2 separate regions of the Homo sapiens genome follow, and region 2 is linked to region 1. The links are contacts of gene promoters, found by promoter capture Hi-C in blood cells and fetal thymus (Javierre and others, 2016). All regions are on one chromosome and are shown on one strand. Each heading gives the region's core, a stretch centred on a gene start or on the middle of the fragment in contact. The rest is flanking DNA. Distances are from core to core; before and after follow the strand shown. Region 1 holds the start of PLEKHM2 (pleckstrin homology and RUN domain containing M2). Region 2 overlaps ZBTB17 (zinc finger and BTB domain containing 17).

Region 1 (2,547 bases), core at 25-2,524:
CCATTTTCTTTCTCTTTTTTCTTTCTTTCTTTCTTTTTTTTTTTTTTTTTTTCAGTTTCTGAGACTATCTGGTGAGCCAGGAATTCAAATTACACAAACACACACACAGAGAGGGAGAGAGAGAGAAAAATCCATTCTGATTTGGCCATTTAGGTTTTCAGTGAATATGGATTCTTTTAAATTTATTATTATTATTTTTATATCCAGCCCAAAAACGTCAGAATATGGATTCTACCTTCTAGCACGGACCCTTTTGCGGATATGCCAACTTCATCACAAATACATGCCCTTGACAGGTATGTACTCATTTCTACCTGGAATTGGGACAGTGATGTTTACTGCGGCAAGCCCCACAGCAAGGTGTCTGTGGTGTCACCCGGTTCCCCGGATCAGCATCCAAAATGCAATCCCCATGTACTTCAGGTTCTTATAATCAAAGCCCCTAGTGAACCTCTTCAAAGCTACCATCCTTGAGCAAGATTATTCAGGGGACTTCCCAGGAGCAGAGGCAATGTCGCCGGGACCCAGGCCATGGGAAAGTGAAGTTGCTTATCACTGGCCTCCACCCTGACTGCCAGACCCTGGGCGACGCCAGCCTGGCGGGGGGACCCGGGGATGCAGCGGATTCCACAGGAGGCTGCATGGGGTTCCTTCAGGAGCTCCCGGGGGCGCCGCTGCCCCAGTGGGGGACCGGAGGGTCGCTGACCCCTCTCCGGGAGGGCAGGGCCCCGGGCCAGGTTTGGGGAAGCTCCGAGGATGCTGACCTCAACTTTGTTCTTTAAAAATAGCTCCGAGGCCGCGGCGCTCACGTGAGCGGCGCCGCTTCCCCTCTACCGGCCCGGGGCTCCCGGCCGCTCGTCGCCCCCCGGGTCGCGGAGGGGAAGGGCGGGGGGCCCCGGCCCGGGAGAGCGCCGCCGGAGGGCGTGGGGGGCGCGGCGAGGAAGGGGCCCCGGCCGGGAGGGAGGCCGCGCTCACCTTCTTCACCGACAGCGAGATGTTCTCCAGGATCCGGTCCTTCACCTCCCCCGGCTCCATGGCGCTGCCACCGTCGCCGCCACCGCCACCGCCACCGCCGCCGCCGCCCCGCCGCCGCTTCCCGCGCCGGGGGCCGGGGGCCGCCGCCAACCGCTGCCGCCGGCCGTACGGGGGCTCCGTCGTGCCGGCCGCGGGGCCCGGCGCCCGCCGCCCGGCCCTCGCCTCGCCTGGGCCCTCGCTCCACCGCGGCCCGGAGGCTCCGGAGCGCGGCCGGCGGGGAAGGAGGCCGCGGGCTGTGCGCCGCGGCGGCGGCGGCGGCAGGAACTGATGTCAGGCGGGGCGGCGCCAGGGCCCGCCTGCGCCTGGGGACTCCGGGGACCCGGAGACCCGCACAGACCCTTGGCCGCGGCCCTCCCCAGAGACCCCGAGACCCGCCCCCAGCCCTCCTCAAGTCACAGACTCTCCCCGGCACCCCAGAGACACCCTCAGACCCCAGGGACGCCAGAGACCTCGACCCCGCCTGCCGGGGACCTCGGGGCTCCTCAGAGACCCTCCCCAAGCCCTCCTCAGCCCACAGATTCCTTCAGGGACCCCAGAGACACCCTCAGACCCCAGGGACTCCGGACACCCCGACCCCGCCTGCCAGAGACCCCCACAGACCCTGGGACCCCGGCCCTCCTCGGAGACCCTCCCCCAGGCCTCGTCAGCCCACAGATTCCCTCAGGGACCCCAGAGACACCCTCAGACCCCAGGAACTCCGGAGACCCCGACCCCGCCTGCCCGGGACACCGGCCCTCCTCAGAGACCCTGGAGACCCTCCCCCTCAGCCCTCAGGCCATAGACTCCCCCCTGGGACCTCAGAGACACCCTCAGACTCCAGGGACTCCGGAGACCCCAACCCCACCTGCTGGGGACCCCCACAGACCCTGGGCCCCCAGCCCTCCTCAGAGACCCCCAAAGACCCCGAGGCACTGGCCCTCCCCAGAGACCCTGAGACCCTCCCCACAGCCCTCCTCAGCCCACAGGATCCCCCCACAAAACCCCAGAGACTCCCACAGGCCCCAAGGACTCTGGAGACTCCGACCCCACAGGCCAGAGACCCCCACAGACCCTGAGACCCCGGCCCTCCTCAGAGACTCGAGACACCCACAGACCCTGGGCCCCCTCCCGCCGGCCCTCTTTAGTCCACAGACCCCTCCTTGGAGACCCCAGTGCACCCCACTAACTCTGGCCAGGGACCCCAAGACCCTCTTAGCCTGCAAGCCCCACTTATCTTCCTCCCCTTCCTTAGCCCAGCCACCCCCTCAATGTGCAGACCCAGGCCCCCTGGCTTTCGCAGCCTGGAGGACCCAGCACCCCCACCGGGTCAGCCTAGACTCCAGTCCCCAGCCCTAGACCCTCCCTGGGCCCCCTGGCCCTCCACAGCCTCCCCTCCTCAGTGCCTCACCCTCAAGGCCCAGTCCTACATTTGAGGTCCCTGGTGTTCCTCCCCACCCCCAAAACACACCCTCCTCACCTTCAGCCCCAATGCCCCATTCCCACTCCTTATCCTTATCCCTCTTCTTCAGCCCC
Region 2 (2,547 bases), core at 20-2,519, 270 kb before region 1:
GTGCATACTAATAACCTGGGTAACATTTCATGTTTGACAGGTGCCCATTTGACTCTGACATGGAGCTGTGCTCTCTGGGGCCACTTAGCACTCTGGGCATGCACTCCAGCCTTTGTCTGGGAGCACTCTTGGGGTTTAACAGAACAGTTGTTCAATATAAAGTGCCTCCTGGCAGAGACAATAGCTCTAGATGTCTCTCCACTCAGTGCCCCTCCCATCACTTCCTCCCTGTCTTCATGCTAATTGTGCTCTGGAATTCTTCCAGATTGCATTTAGGAGTGATGGGTTATGATTACACCTCTTAACAAGGTCAAGTACCCCATGTGCCCAGTGCAAAGGGGTATATAGAAACCATCTGATAAAGACTTTGGCCTAAAAAAATGAAACTATCATCTGCATCTCTGCTTCCTGGCAACAGTAGTTTGTTGCATGCTCACGATATGCCAGGCTCTGTACAGGGTCTTGACCTATGTTACTTAATTTAATCCTGTCACAAAGGAAGTCATACCATTAGCCCTGTTGGCCATTGGAGAAGCTTTGCTGGAGATCACCTGCGGGTGGCTGGTGGAACCCAGATCCAGGTCCTGCTTGGCCTGTCCCGGGAGGCTCTGCTGCTTCCATGGGGCTCAGCCGCCACTGGAATCCCTGCGTCGTGGAGGCAGCAGTATGGAACTTGGCACCAGAGTGGATTTCACGGCCCAAACAGAAACCTGGCTTACTCAGCAGTCTGTGGTGCTTTGGGACTGCAAGACAGATGCAATGGGTTGTGCTTTCTGGGGCCAGCCCTTCCAAATCCCACCCGCAGGAGCCTTGGCGGCTCTCTTAGCTCCTCTGACCCTCGCTGCCACGCTGGGCCTCAAGGCAGCCCTGGTGAGCATGGCCGGGAGTGTGGTTGGGAGCAACCCAGCCTTGGCCAGCACACTCTGTGCCATGACTGGATCAAGTCTGGCAACTGAACCTCACTTTTTTCTTATTAAAATTTTTGAAAAATGGCTGGGTGCAGTAGCACACGCCTGTAATCCCAGCACTTTAGAAGGCCAAGGTAGGCAGATTGCTTGAGCCCAGGAGTTTGAGACCAGCCTGGGCAACATGGTGAAATCCTGCTTCTACAAAAAAAAAAAAATACATTTTTTTAAATAATTGGAATGTTTTCATGTAAATGTATATGAAATATACACATTTAGTTTAAGTAATAAATCCAGGGGACTCCAAGTAAAGAAAGAGAACTCTTCTAGGATCTCAGAAGTCCCCTGCTTACCCTCCCCCATCCAGAGAGAACCGTCATCCTGAACCTTTGGCTGAATCACTTCCTTTTCTTCCTGGTTTTACCGTCCGTCTCAGTTATCTCCTGCTGCACAGCACAGCACCCCAAAACCCAGTGGCATAAGTCATCGGTGAGTCAGTCTTTCTTAGTTGGATGGGTGGACAGGCAGTCGCTTGCTCCCCGAGGTGTTGGTTGAGGCCGTGCGTGCAGCAGCGCACAGCTGGGCTGGGAGGTCCAGGAAAGTGTGTCCCTCGCCACAGAGCATTGGTGCTGTCAGTGGCCTCTCTGCTCTTCTCCATGTGCCCTCTCCCCAGAGCCCCTCCATGTGTCTCCCACTCACACGGGAGCTTGGACTTTCCTCCAGCTCGGTGACTGGATTCCCAGGAGCCACAGCAGAATCTTCCAGGCTTCTTTAGGTTTAGGTCTGGAATTGGCACAGTCCCAGCATCCTGATGTCAGAGTCGTCTCTGGGCCATCCAGATTCCGACAGGAGGGAAACAGACACCGTCTCTCCATGGGAGGCGTGGTGGGCCCTGGCAGGGGAGGAATGGCTGGCCATCCTGAGAGGGGCTCTGCATCATCCGCGTCCGTTCCGCCGTGTCGGTTCTGCCGCGTCTGTTCCGCTGTGTCAGTGTGCCTGTCCGGACTCACACTGCAGGTGTCCTCAGTGCCTCACTTTTTTGTTCCCCAGTGAATTCCTCGTGAGGGAGCCCAGGGCTCTGTGTCCACCTAAGCTTTTGGTCATCAGGACAGCATCCCAGCTCTGACACCTGAGGTGAGGGAGAAAAACTGAGTGACTAGAGGTGTTGGGAAAAGGTGCCCGATTGCAGCTAAGACTTTGTGAGTGGGGGTCAGGTCAGTCTGCATCTAAAATGAGGACTCTGGGCTGCTGGGCTCTGTGGTCTCGTTCTGTTGGCATTTTCTATGGTTCTAAGGTTTTAGGATCTTCCTTAGAAGTTGCTTTAACTAGTGCACATATTTATCGCCCATCACGCAAGGTGAAGACAAGACCACAGACCTTGACACTTGTGCTTGAGCGATGGGCACCGTATTCCAAGGGTGGGGTGGGGCAGGCTGCCTGGTGGGAACAGTATTTCTTCACCCTGTGTTCCCGCACATCTGGGGGCGATGGGGAGCAGCTGGCTGTTGATCTGATTACTGTGGTTAACGTCTCCCCAGACAGCACCTCCTAGCACGTACTTAGGAGGGGATATGTTCCTAGGACCTGCACACCCCTTCGCTCCCAAACCCTTTTCCTATGTCCCTCCAAGCCTGGCCGTCCT

The links. The method cuts DNA at HindIII sites, captures the fragments that hold promoters and counts their contacts. A CHiCAGO score of 5 or more calls a contact.
Region 2: a contact is called between a fragment that was not itself captured here and the fragment with the promoter of PLEKHM2 in region 1, in 1 of 17 cell types (monocytes). The highest score is 5.8, in monocytes.

The regions. Positions count from the first base shown.
Region 1 is chr1:15,683,047-15,685,593 of GRCh38, reverse strand. PLEKHM2 (pleckstrin homology and RUN domain containing M2) reads right to left here and starts at 1,274. Exons shown (of 20, transcript NM_015164.4): 1 at 976-1,274. The coding sequence starts at 1,035. RefSeq lists an enhancer at 291-350 and silencers at 581-650, 1,171-1,250, 1,341-1,420. The HindIII fragment of the contact is 15,543 bases long and covers 1-2,547 here.
Region 2 is chr1:15,951,757-15,954,303 of GRCh38, reverse strand. All of the region lies in intron 2 of ZBTB17 (zinc finger and BTB domain containing 17), which reads left to right. It overlaps LOC124903855 (a long non-coding RNA gene), which reads right to left. Exons shown (of 3, transcript XR_007065486.1): 2 at 1,259-2,034; 3 at 1-743. Among named protein-coding and RNA genes, the nearest start is that of ZBTB17, 23 kb to the left of the region's middle. RefSeq lists an enhancer at 709-1,908. The HindIII fragment of the contact is 1,463 bases long and covers 538-2,000 here.